3 separate regions of the Homo sapiens genome follow, and all the other regions are linked to region 3. The links are contacts of gene promoters, found by promoter capture Hi-C in blood cells and fetal thymus (Javierre and others, 2016). All regions are on one chromosome and are shown on one strand. Each heading gives the region's core, a stretch centred on a gene start or on the middle of the fragment in contact. The rest is flanking DNA. Distances are from core to core; before and after follow the strand shown.

Region 1 (4,505 bases), core at 657-3,156, 160 kb after region 3:
ATTGATGTATTTAACAATGTTGAATTCTAAAATAGCAGTGTCTTTTTTTTTTTTTTTTTTAAGACAGGGTCTTGTTCTGTCACCCAAGCTGGAGTGCATTGGCACTATCTCAGCCCACTGCAACCTCTGCCCCCTGGGCTCAAGCACAATGTCATTATCCTAACCAGAATTTCTTATCTTATGTTTTTCAGACTTGCTTCTAGGCACAGATTATTGACAAGCAAACCAGGAACTTTTACAGATTGTGATAAGAATTAAGATAGGGAATATAATAGAGGATAACTGGGCTGCTCTGAGAAGCCAAGGAGGGCCACACTGTGAGTGGGGTCAAGGCTGAGACTTGAAGGAGGAGAAGATGCCAGCCATAACAACAGCATGCTAGGCAAGGTGACTCTGTAACACAGCTTTGGGGACCCTCCTGAGGCCTGCCTGTGTGGCCCTTTCTTCTGTTCCTAGTTTTTGTAGAAGAAAGTTTAAAAATCGCTGATTTGACTAGTCCAGCCTTCTCCTTTTGTGGGTGAGGAGATTGTGAAGGCTAGAAGGTAAAGATATGCAATGACAACCTAGGTTCCTAATGCCTGATACCACCCCCCACAATATGGCATAAATTTTTCTACTAGTTATTTACAGCATTTGTTTTTTTCATGAGTTATTTTAGATGTATTAAAATTGCAAATTATATTTATTCATCAGTTGTAATATTCAGAAAAATACCTTCACCTAAAAGAAAAACAAAAACTTAGTAGACAAAGATTTGTCTTTAAAGTGAAAGATATTTTTAATCTTAACTAAATGAAATAGGGAAGTAAACAGTTTGTGAACTTCTGTTTTGAAAGCAAGTGTTCCTATTTTGAAACAACTGACACATTGACATTTTTACACTGATTATAAATGGCTTTGTTACTCACAGACAGCTTAGAGATGTGGGTCGGTGTGAGGAGCTTAAAGTAGATCTTACTGAGCCCAGCTTCAGAGTAAATATGAGTAGAATCGTAAAAGCCAGAAATGTAAATCCTTTTCTTTCCTTTGTAAATCTTCCTTTCCTCACTTATTGTCAGAAATATATGCCCAATTAAAAAAATTTGGTTGCTAAAAGGTGCTGTTAGTCATGAGCATTCTGTAAAGTTTATTTTGAAAATAAATAGGGATGGGTTTAGAAGCACAGATTCACATTGCCAGAATTCATACTTTTCTCTAGCCACTTTCTTGCTAAGTATATCTCTCTGTGTGTATTTCTTTACCTTAAAATGGATCATAATGTCTGTGTCATAGGGTTAGTTTGAATATTAACAACAGTGATCAGTAATTATTAGTTTATTTTTATTTCAATTACAGTTGTTTGATGCTTGAACTAGGGAACATCAGGAAAGTTTGGGATTCATTAACAGCATAAAATTAGGGGAAATATTTTTGGGAGAGGAAGCTGTTACTAGTTCTGGTTTTGAATCTGGAGATGTGATAACTTGACTGACTTTTGTTACATTTTATATTTTATAGCTTAATAACTGCATGTGAAATGATTAAGTCTGTATCTAGTGTTCTGTTTTTTGAGGCATATAATTGAAAGGTATTATAATTGGCTGTTTAAAGCAAAATACGTTAATTTGTTTTATGCCAGAGTTGAATCCTATTTATCTCTACATCTTTTAAGGAAAGCCAGTGATGTGTAACATAGTATTTTCCTTTTGAGACTTTATAATCAGCTGCTGTTATTAATTTTTTTAACTAACATTCATATTTTTAACATAACTCATACTTTTTAAAATATGAATTCATAATTCATAATAGAATTTTTATATATTTTTAAAGCTTCTGATTTAAAAAGCAGTATACCCAAACTACTGCCTTTATGTAGTTCTCTTCAGTTAGATCAGCATTTCTTCTGGCTCAATGGTGGGAACTCATTCAGTGGTCGTTCTATTGGAACTCTTAATAGCAGCCACCTATAGCTCGTTTCCAGTTGTTTCTTGTTGGTTTCCTCTGCCAATTAGACATAAAGCTTCTAATTAGAGGCCTTGACTTTATGTCTTTTACATTGTGAACATCTGGCTGTTCAGTTATTTCTTGTTAGTTCATTGTGTTCTTATGTTAATAAATTTGTCTTCAGTAGGGAATAACCAAAAAATTCTCTGGATCCTGTGAAATTTCAGTTTGTGTTAAAAAGTGGGGGGAACAGGTGAGGAATGGGATGGGTGAGCTGAGCAGAGCCTTTTATATTCATAGTCCTTTATTGTAATGAGTTTATCACTTTACTTAGAGACATTCTAAGTATACTGTGTCAGTAATTCTGTTGGAGCCATTAGCTCTGATCTTGATATTGAAATTCCACTATAAGCCAGGACTAGAGATAACATAACCAGAAAAAGGTCATTTGCATCAGTAAGTACAAATGCCAGTGCTTATTGTACCTGAGCAAAAAGGTGGGACATCATTCATGCTTTCAGTATTTATTGAATATTCTCTATATGCCACAGACTGGTTAGGGGATGAATAGAAGTGGAGCAGGTTGGCACTGTCATTGAAGAGAAACACAGGAAATGGAGGACAGGAGTTTTCCCAAAATAAAATCAGGATGTGACTGCTAGACTAAGGAGAAAAGGATGCTTGGCAGGCAGAAAAAACATCCAACGAGGTAATGTAATCTAATTAACTAGTATCTTATTCTGCTGCTTGACTGTCCACTTTTGTCATACCGGAACAGCCAGGTACATATGTGGGACAGTGAGTGTCTTCCCTGATTTCCAAAAGACCAACAAATGGGAGTCAGTGAATTCCATATTAAGCCAAATGAAATATCACATAGTTGAAATTCTGCATGTGAAAGTTGTCCCTTTTCTCCCATTTATTCAGCAATTTATAGCAATATGGGTTTATGGATATTTATTTTATACTTTGGGCTACATCTAGTACTTCTTCATTTTGTTGCTCAGATTGTTTCAGCTTTGGTCATTTGGGAGCTCTTTCTGTTGATTCTTACCTTCCTTTCTCTATCCCCATCAGTGTAGGATTTGGGTGGTTTTCTCTATTTTTTACTTTCCGGCACTATAGGATGCTCCATTCTCATCTCGTGTATTTCCTGCCCCTGTCCTCAAATCGGCCATTGCTCCAGGAAGCCCTGGTTTCTTTTATTGGAAAATAATATTAGAACACAAGATCTGAGTTCCAGGTGTGTTCTTTGCTATTGGCATGTCATTGCTTTAGGCTCTTAGAGCTGACAGAGCAAGGAAATACATGTATGTATACTAACCTATGAATATACACATCTATAAATATTCTTATATGTATGTAATAATGTATATGTTTCACTAAACATGAATTCTTACTGATATCACTGACTCTTAACCATTACCACCTGGATCATTTTGGCCTCCCCCGCCTTGTTTCTGTATAAATTGCTCTTCCAACAGTGAGACACCTGGCTCCCAGTATCCACCATCTGTGTACTTAATTGTTCGATTTCAGTGTACATGTATAGTGGCATCAGAATGGTTAACCCAAACTCCCATGGGAAAAAGCATTATTAACTAGAATACATTGCGTGTGTATGGTTTCTTTTGCCTTTAGTCTTACAGATTCTATTCATTTCCAGAATTACTTAGGTGAGCACTCTCCCCTCTCCCCCCACTTCAGTAAGGTTGATTCATTCATTTGTAATACAGTTAAATTGTTTTGTCATTTTATGCATTCCATCCTGGAGTCTCCCAGTCTTCTAAATAAATTTTTAAAATTTGCATACATTTAGATTCACTTTTTGTGCTGTGAAGTTCTGTTTTGACAAATGCATCATGTCCTGTATCCACCATTACAATTTGATAAAGAATGGTTTTACCACCCTAAAATATATTTGTGCTTCACTTATTCAACCTTTCCCATCTCCCCCTGATCTCCTAGCAACCACTGATCTTTTTACTATCTCCATAATTGTCCCTTTTCCAGAATGTCATGTACTTGGAAGCATACAGTATGTAGCCTTTTCTTTTAGTAATATTCCATTGTATAGATATACCACAGTTTGTCTGTTCACCTTTGATGGCCATCTTGACTATGCCCAGATTTTGGTGATTATGAATAAAGCTGCTTTAAGGAATTGTATGTAGATTTTTGTATGTAAGGTTTCAAATCAGTTCAGTCAATACCAGAAGCACGATCGCCAGATTGTATGGTATAACTATGTTAGCTTTTAAATATATTACCTTTGCATTGCTGTTTCTTGGATCAGAATAATCTTTTGCTATTTTCCCTGCCCACTTCCTCACCAAATCCCTTTGACTGTGGATCCCAGGTCATATCATCACTACAAAAAAGCAGATGATACCGAATTTCAGCTGATCATTTCTTGGGGGAAATATAATACTGTAGTGATCTTTTCTATATGCTTTTGATATTTTCAATTAATCTATCAGGGAAAATAATTAGTTGCATCTTGTTGAATTTGACTATTTTGTGCTTTCTCATAATATAACAGTAATGGATATTTTGAAGTTGATGCATATAGCCTGTAGGTT
Region 2 (4,478 bases), core at 135-2,634, 140 kb after region 3:
AGATCACACCACTGCACTCCAGCCTGGGCGACAGCGCGAGGCTCCGTCTCAAAAAAAATAAATAAAAAAAAAAGAAACTACTGACATGTTATCCAAAGTGGTTGCACCATTTTATATTCCCGTTAGCAGGGTATTACAGTTCCACTTCCTGCACATCCTTGCCAACACCTGATATGGTAAGAAGTTTTCATCTTAATCATTTTATTGGTTATGTAGTGGTGTCTCCTGGTGTTTTAATTTTTATTTTCCTAATGACTAAGGATTTTGAGCATCTTTTCATGTGCCCTCTTATTTCATGTGCTATTCATGTTGTCTTTGCTTAAATGTCTGTTCACATCTTTTTTGCATTTTTTTAAATTGAGCTGTTTGTTTTCTTATTTAGTTGTAACAGTTATTTACATATTCTGGATACAAGTCCTTTGTCAGATAAGCATTTTGCAAATATTATTTCCAGTCTGTGGCTTGTATTTTTACTTTTGTAACAGTGTCTTTTGAGGAGTAAAAGCTAAAAAAAAAATTTTTAATCCACCTCTCAATTCATCTTTTTTTCTTTTATAGTTCAAGATTTTTTTCTTTTTTGTATCCTACTTAAGAATATCTTTGCCAAACTCAAGATCACTAAAATTTTCCCGTGTTGATTTCTAGGAACTTTAGAATTTTAGCTCTTACATAAATTCTGTTATTCATTTCAAGTTGATTTTTGTAAATTTTGGAGCATCCAGATTCTCTTTTGTTTTTCTTTCCCATGTGGCTATTCATTTGTACCAGCATGACTTATTGAAAAGATTACTTTTCCCCAATTGAATTGCCTTGGCACCCTGTTGCAATCAGTTGACCATATATGTGGGGGTCTACTTTTGGAGTCTCTGTTCTATTTCACACATCTGTTATCTGTGTCAGTTTTATACCATCTTGATTACTATGATTTTAAGTCTTAAATCAGGCAATGTTGAGTCCTCCAATCTTGTTCTTCTTTTTCAAAATTCTTTTTACTATTTTGGGTCCTTTGCTTTTCTGTATAACTTTTAGAATCATCTTGTAAATTTTTACAACAAAAAACTTGATTGGAATTGTATTGACTGTCTAGATCAATTTGGGGAAAATTGCTGTAACAATATTGGTTCTTTTGATGCATGAACATGGTATATCTTTCTTTTTATTTAGGTGTTCTTTAATTTCTTCCAGCTGTATTTTGTCAAATATTTATCTTAGTATTTTGATGCAATTGTAAATGGTTTTGATTTTTATTTTCCAGTTGTTCCTTGCTGTTATTAGAAATATGATTGATTTTTATATGTTGGCCTTGCATTTTCCTACTTTCCTAATCTTACTACTTTCCTATATCCTGTATCACCTGTAAAAATTGTACCAGAATCAAAAAAATTCTAGTAGAATTTTTATAGGTGTTATAGGAGATATCATGTCTGTGTCTAAAGACAGTTTTATTTTCTCTTTTCCAGTCTACATACTTTTTTTTTCTTTGCGTTTTATTGGCACGAAGATTGCCCTCTTACCTTCATTTATTCTTTCACTATGATGTTAAATAGGAGTGGTGAGAAGGAACAATCTTACCTTGTTCTAATCTTAAATGGAAAGTATTTAGTCTTTCACCATTAAGTATGATGATAGCTGTATATCTTTTGTACATGTCTTTTATCAGCTTAAGGAAGTTCTTTTTGTGCCCATTTTGCCAAGATCTTTTACCATGAATGGATGATGAATTTTGTCCAATGTTTTTTGTCTGTTTTTTGAAATGATTAATTTTGTTTTTTAAGTCTTATATGTTGAAGTTTTTTTTTTGAATATTTAAACAGTATTTCATTCCTGGGATAAATCCCACTTGGTCATGATGTTTTTATCTTTTTTATACATTAATGGATTACATTTGCTGAAATTTTGACAAGAATTTTTGCATCTGTAATAAGATGTGAAATTGGTCTGTAGTTTTTTTGTTTTAATACCCTTATTTGTTTTGGGGATCAGAGTGATGCTGGCTTTGTAAAATGAGTTTGGAGAGTTTCTCCTGTTTCTGGGAGAGTTTGCGTATGATTTTTTTTTTCCCCTTAAATATTTGGGAGAACTCATCGTTAAATACATCTAATCCTGGAGTTATCTTTGTGAGAAGATTTTAACTACAAAATAAGTTTCTTAAGTACATATAAGCCTATTCAAGTTAGCTAGTTTTTTGTGAGTGACCTTTGGTATTTTGAGTCTTTGAAGGAATTTGTCCGTATCATAAACTGAGAGTTGTTAATTATATTTGCTGATTAGTCTTCTAATGTTTATAGAAAGTATAGTCGTATTCAGTCTCTCATTTCTTATGTTCACAATACCTGGCTTCTCTTTTTTCAAACTGACTAGCTAGATGTTTATCAATTTTGTTAATCTTCCCAAACAGAAAACTTTTGTTTCCTTCGATTTTTCTCTATTTTCTGCTTTCTACTTTATTGATTTATATTCTTTATTATTTCTTTTCTTTTTTTATTAAAAAACAAGATATGGATTACTTATCTAATATTTAGAATGTGATCTTATAGATTATATATGAGTATGCAATATAGATAACTGTATGGATATACCATATTTCCAATCATAAATATTATATTACAAGATGTAATGCAAGATAAAATCCCTGCACAATAGCTGTGTTGGCATAAGCATCATTTTAACTGAGTGTTTTAAGATGGTTGTAATACCACTGAGTGTTTTAAGATGGCTATAATACCACTGTAGTCACAGACATGTCAGCAGCATGTTCTTGGCACATTTAATCTGTGGCTACAGTAAGGATACCAACCTCCTCTGTAATCAGTATTTCCAACTTAGCATAATTTAAGTGAATTTACAATTGCTTGATGTATATCTTTTTAAAAGAGTGAATGTGTTCAAACGTTGAGATTTTTAGAAGTCTTACAGTAGTGGTTTTCTTTTTTCAAATTTTTGGCATATATTCAAACTTTCAGAAAATTTTTAAGAATGAAAATAGTCAAAAACATTCATATTCTTTACCCAGATTCACCTGCTGTTGACAGTTTGACCCATTTGCTTTATCATTTGCTGTTTTCTCCTCCCCGTGCACAATCTAATGAATGAATTTGTATCCATGAAAGAACTATAAGCTTAAAGCTCTTGAGCAGAGATTACATTTTGTCCTCTGGTTACACAATATTTAAAATACCATTTAGATAAACATTTTAGAAAAGATTTAGGGAATAGAACACAAAAGCATGCTTTTTGCTGTTGTTGACTTTTAAAATATTGAGATACAATTTCTCATATCATACTTCACCTTTTAAAGTGTATAATTCAGTGGGTTTTTGAAGTATACTCATAGACTTGTACAACCATCACAACTGTCTCATTCCAAAATATTTCCATCACCCCAAAAGAAATCCTTTATACAATAGGAGTCACACCCTATTCCTTCCCAGCCCCTGACAACTGCTAATCTAGGTTCTTTTTGCCTATTCTGGACGTTTCCTATAAATGGAATACTAAAATATATGGCCTTTTGTATCTGGCTGCTTTCACTTAGCATTAGTCCTCAAGATTCATCTGTGAGCTTTGTGTCAGTACTTCATTCCTTTTTGTTGTGGCTGAAAAATACTCCATTAAATGGATTTACCACATTTTGTTAACTGCTCATTAGTCAGTGGACATTTAGGTTGTTTTCATTTTTGACTATCATGAATTTGAACAATGCTATTATGAACACTGGTATATAAGTTTTTGTTTGCACAAGTATTTTCGGTTTTCTTATGTATATACATAAGAGTATAATTGGTATATTGTATGGTAACTTTATATTTAGTTTTTTTAATAACTACCCAACTGTTTTCCAGTGTGGCTGCTCCATTTTATGTTACCACCAGCGACTTAGGCGTTTTCGATGTCTCCACATCCTCATCAATGCTTATTGTTGTCTTTTTTATTACAGCCATCCTTTTGTTTTTGAAGCAGTATGTTGTTTTGCTTTTGATTAACATCTGTCTAAGGACTGGTTTTGAGCGTCTTTTCGTGTATGTATGTATTATTGTCCGTTTATGTATCTTTGGAGAAATGTCTAGTCAGTTTCCTTGTCCATTTTTTGATTGGGAGGTTTGTCTTTTATTCATTGCAAGAGTTCTTTTTATATTCTCTGTATGTATCTCTTATCAGATACATCATTTGCAGAAATTTTCTCCCATCCTGTGGGTTGTCTTTTCACTTTATTGATAGTGCCCTTTGAAGCACAAACTGTTTTAATTTTGATAAAGTCTAATTTATCTGTGTTGTCTTTGCTTACCTATTCTAGTTAAGAAACCATTGCCTCATCAGAGGTTATGAAGATTTACATCTATGTTATCTTCAAAAGTTTTATAGCTTTATCTCTTACACTGAGGTCTTTGTTCCTTCTGGATTTAATTTTTGCATATGTTGTTAGGCAGGGTCCGTCCTCATTCTTTTCCAAGCAGATACCTAGTTATTCCAGTGCCAGT
Region 3 (4,113 bases), core at 214-2,713:
CCGGAGTTGAGCATTGCCCTAAGTTTTAGAGGCCATCCCAAGAACCATACATAGAGTTTGGATAGGAAAGTATTTCCTTAGAAGAAGGAGGAAGTGTAAAAGGAAAAACAAGGAAGTGAAAGTCTGAGCTGAAAATGTGGGCAGGCAAAGCTTTGGGGAAAATAGAAAGGTTAAGCTGGCAACTGTACAAGGGCCCCGTCTACTGGAAGCAGATGCTCCTGGGCTGCCCTGGGCGACAGTCTTGTGAAGTCAGCATGCCCTCAGAGAAAAGGTCCTATGTGCTCGGAGGTTCAGGGACAGTGCAGGGTTGAGAGTCCATTAATCCAGTTTAGACATTCAATAAGCTTCTAGCTACTTTATTATCAACACCCCAAACTTCCTATACCCCTGTTAGTTTCTGAAAAAGAAGTCTGGGCTAGGTGGATATATATCTTGTGATTTAGGTGAATTTGTGAACGATGATTTTTCCAGGAAGAAAGGAAACTGGGACGAAGCTTCATGATGGATCCTGATGCAACTCTTCCCCAGAAACCCTTAAACCTCCTCCCATTTTTTCTGCCCTTAAGGGACAAGGCTTGGCTGTGATCATTGGCTCAAATAATGTGGACAGAGACAAGGATATTGAAACGGACTGTCCCACCGTTGAGAAAATAGTCAAGAAGGCAATATCTGAGAATAATTGGAGTGCTTTAGGAGGAAGGTCATTGCTGAGAAGAAACAGAGCTTCCAAGAAAATGAAAGGAAAAGCTCTACCAAATGGAAACTAAATCTACTTATTAAGTCTTATTTCCATATAAGGAGGGTGAAAGAAACTGATATGATTGTGAAACCATGTAAGTGTTGCTTTGGCTTTTAGACTATACATATTTATCCTTATGTTCAGGAAATGTGTTTCTTCTGGTTCCCATGTTCCCTCCAAAGCCCAGGTGGACTTCATCACCTTGAACTGCTGGCCTATGGCATAGACAGAAACTAGGAAAACCGCTTTTCCACCAGAGCGGCTGGGCGTGGGCTCGGGTGAGGTGTGATGGAAAGAGCTCTAGAGTAGGAGGGGTCGGTACCTTGACCCTCGGCTTGCCCTGGGTAGCGGACGATTAAGTGGGCCAGGGCAAGTCACCGAGCTTTCCTGGTACTGTTTCCGCATCTGTAAAGTGGGCGTGTAGTCCACCTCAGAAATGGCATTTTTCCAAGACCTCCCTAGGCCGCTTGTTGGAAGGCTCGGCACCTCGGCGGCTCTCGTGCGGCAGGCATCGCTCCCACACTTACTAGGCAATATGTCGGGTGGAAGACGTGGCGGCTCCCGCTCAGCAGCCACCCTCCCATCCTCCCGGGCCCGCCTGACCCGAGAGGGCGGGCGAGGTAAGCATCCCGCTGGTGGATAAGGCAGCGATTCCGGCGGGCGAAGGCTGCGCGCCGGGGGCGAAGGATTCCAGCTGTTCTAGGTCTCTGTGACCCGCGCCTCTGGTTCCGAGCGCGGTCTGTTGACGACGGCGTCTCCGCGGTTGCCTGGACACGGCCAATCACAGCGCGGCTCCTGGAGCCGGCCCCGCCCACAGACCGCGCCCTCACTGGGGCGATGGCTGCGGACCGTGGCCAAGAGGGCGGGGCGCCGAGGCCGTCACCGAGCCAGGTGCGGAAAGCCGGCGTCCGGAACCACCCGGGCCGGGACGACCTCCACCCCAGACCCCCAAACAGAGGCCACGCTAGAGGGACAGGGCGAGTGGCGTTGCCCCTTGCGCCTACTGTCAATGGGAAAATTAACAACAGCGGAGAATATGAATGAAAGAATGAATGAATTAACAAACAAATACACTGATGAGCTGGGGTAGAAATATAGGGTGCGAGCAGACAGGGGAGGAAGGCGCCAGAGGCCGAGGAGAGGCGAGGAGACTGCGGGAAACGCTACAAACGAACTTCTTTTCATACTTTTCAGCAGAGCATTGACCCCTGTGTAGTTTTAATTTTCACCTCACCACTGTCAGGCGATGCTCTCTTCCTTGCACAGTTCAGAGAAAGACGCTTTAAAAGAGGTGGGGCAGTTCGTTGTAGCTCAGCCACTGGACGTGGGCGGAGCTGAGACAGACAGAAGGGACAGGGAGCTGCAATTTTGCAATTGTGGAGGCAGGGGCTGCAGTTGCCAAGAATATTCTTACCTGTTTGACATGAATATTTCTATAGGCATTATTTTCTCCATTCAGCTTTGTTTTTAACCTTTGTTTCAGTGTTACCTTATCAATTAAGCAAAAGGCTCTAAATATTTTCCTATTTTTCCAGTCACCAGGAAATAAAATTGTGCTTATGAAAAGTATCTTTAAAGTCTTAATAAAAGACCCCACAGTAAGTATTGTTTTTAGGGTATTGGGATAGTAAACGATTTTAGATTTTAAAATTATAGAACTGACCAGATCATTTGCAGGTTTTTCAAAGAACTAATAAAACATAGTTAATGTTAGAACTGAGTAATTCTGTCCCCCCAAAAAAAGTCTGCTTCATCCACAGGAATTTATTTCTCCTGCATTCTTTTAATGCCTCTATCATTTAAAAAGTACTGAAAGATTTCATTCCATATCACAAATCATTCCTGGCAGTTATTAGTTTATATATATTTGGCCCTGCAAATGAAACCTGCCATCCACACCACCAAAAAACAAGCAAAAGCTTGATAGTACTGAAGACTGTTCAGAAGGGAGTAAAACACCAGCCTCGCCCATGTTTGCCAATGACCCATTAATCCTTGCTGTCCACACCCTGCCACACTAATATTCTTGGGTCACGGGGGTGAGACAGAGCACACAGCAACACATAGCCAAATGCCCTGCCTCACATGGTCACGCCAGGCACTCTTGTTCCCACCTTCACCCCATGCCTGCTCCTTTCCCTAGGACACTTGCCACATACGTGCAAGTCACCAAGATGATCTGTCCCTATCTTTCGTGTTTATGTGTCTATAAGCATACATTCTGTTGAAAATGTGAAACATTACTTACTTAAATTGTAGAATGATAAGTGAGTAGAAGTTTAAGGTTATTTTGAAGCATTAAATAGTTGGTATGGACTTCAGTTTAGCTAGTTACAGAATGGTTTGCCTCATTTTTATTGAGTTATTTGAAATAAGAAAACCTTTAGCACAGTGGTGATACACTACTATACTGAACTTTTGACAAATTTGTTTTGAGTTTACATTTTTACAGATAATTTGTATCTTTCCTTAAACCTCAGTAAGCGACATTGATCAAATCACTGCCATCTTTGATGTCAAACTTCTGGACTTTACCATTAAGGGCTCAAATTATACTTTCAGACTTTTGCTCATTGCCTCCAACACAAACCCCCATCCCAGAGAGACCCACCTGGTCCCTGCCTCTGAGCACAGATGACTTTACTCAGGCCACCCAGATTACCACAGTTTGGGAATCACCGTCCCTTCAGGGTCAGCTCTAGCTCTTCTCTCTCTCCCCAAAGCCCTCCCATGGATGCTGCGGCCCTAATAACTTCTCTCTACCTGTACAGTCTCAAAGCATTGCTTGCCAGTACCACACTCTTGGCAACCATGTACAAGCCTTTGACAAGCCTTTCGTTGTTATTTGACCTTTGTGCTGTTTACTTTTCAGGTTCAATGGGTTTTCCTTTTCTTTATACAAGTCTATCACTGCCACTGCTTGGGCTTATGGCCATGATCAGAATGTTTGGTGGAGGAGGGAGGGTGATAAAGGAAATGAAGGGAGGAAAAGCATTTTCCTAAGCCCACTGCAAAAACTGGAACCAGAGGAGACGGAGAATGTTAACTCCTTGTATATATGTGTGAGAAAGAACCTGAGCTGGAATTAAAACAGAGGCACTCCCTCTGAAGAGGAAGGAGAAACTGAGAGAGTGAGGCAGTTCCTGCTGAACCTTTGTTAGCTCTTGTGGTGAAGGGAGTTTTCGCCATCAGGGGCAGCCTTGGGAGAGGTAGGTGGGGACAGGGGCCATCACGGGGAGGTAGAGCTCAAACAGAGGTTTCTCTATGCTGTGATGTTCTTGAGTTCAGCATTCATTATTTGGGACAATGAATGTAGACTCCTGGCTCTCAATCTAACATCTTTGATGAGGGTCAGAGCTTTTTTACTACCCTTG

The links. Contacts are between HindIII fragments. The CHiCAGO score rates a contact against its expected background, and 5 or more counts as called.
Region 1: a fragment that was not itself captured here is called in contact with the fragment with the promoter of VWA3B in region 3 in 3 of 17 cell types (total B cells, naive B cells and monocytes); the score reaches 12.0 in total B cells.
Region 2: a fragment that was not itself captured here is called in contact with the fragment with the promoter of VWA3B in region 3 in 1 of 17 cell types (monocytes); the score reaches 5.9 in monocytes.

The regions. Positions count from the first base shown.
Region 1 is chr2:97,927,697-97,932,201 of GRCh38, reverse strand. The region is part of intron 1 of TMEM131 (transmembrane protein 131); the gene reads left to right. Among named protein-coding and RNA genes, the nearest start is that of TMEM131, 66 kb to the left of the region's middle. The HindIII fragment of the contact is 190 bases long and covers 1,812-2,001 here.
Region 2 is chr2:97,944,248-97,948,725 of GRCh38, reverse strand. The region is part of intron 1 of TMEM131 (transmembrane protein 131); the gene reads left to right. Among named protein-coding and RNA genes, the nearest start is that of TMEM131, 49 kb to the left of the region's middle. The HindIII fragment of the contact is 3,474 bases long and covers 1-3,121 here.
Region 3 is chr2:98,084,517-98,088,629 of GRCh38, reverse strand. It overlaps VWA3B (von Willebrand factor A domain containing 3B), which reads right to left and starts at 1,463. Exons shown (of 28, transcript NM_144992.5): 1 at 1,267-1,463. RefSeq lists enhancers at 734-1,234, 1,269-1,338, 1,235-1,735. The HindIII fragment of the contact is 2,164 bases long and covers 497-2,660 here.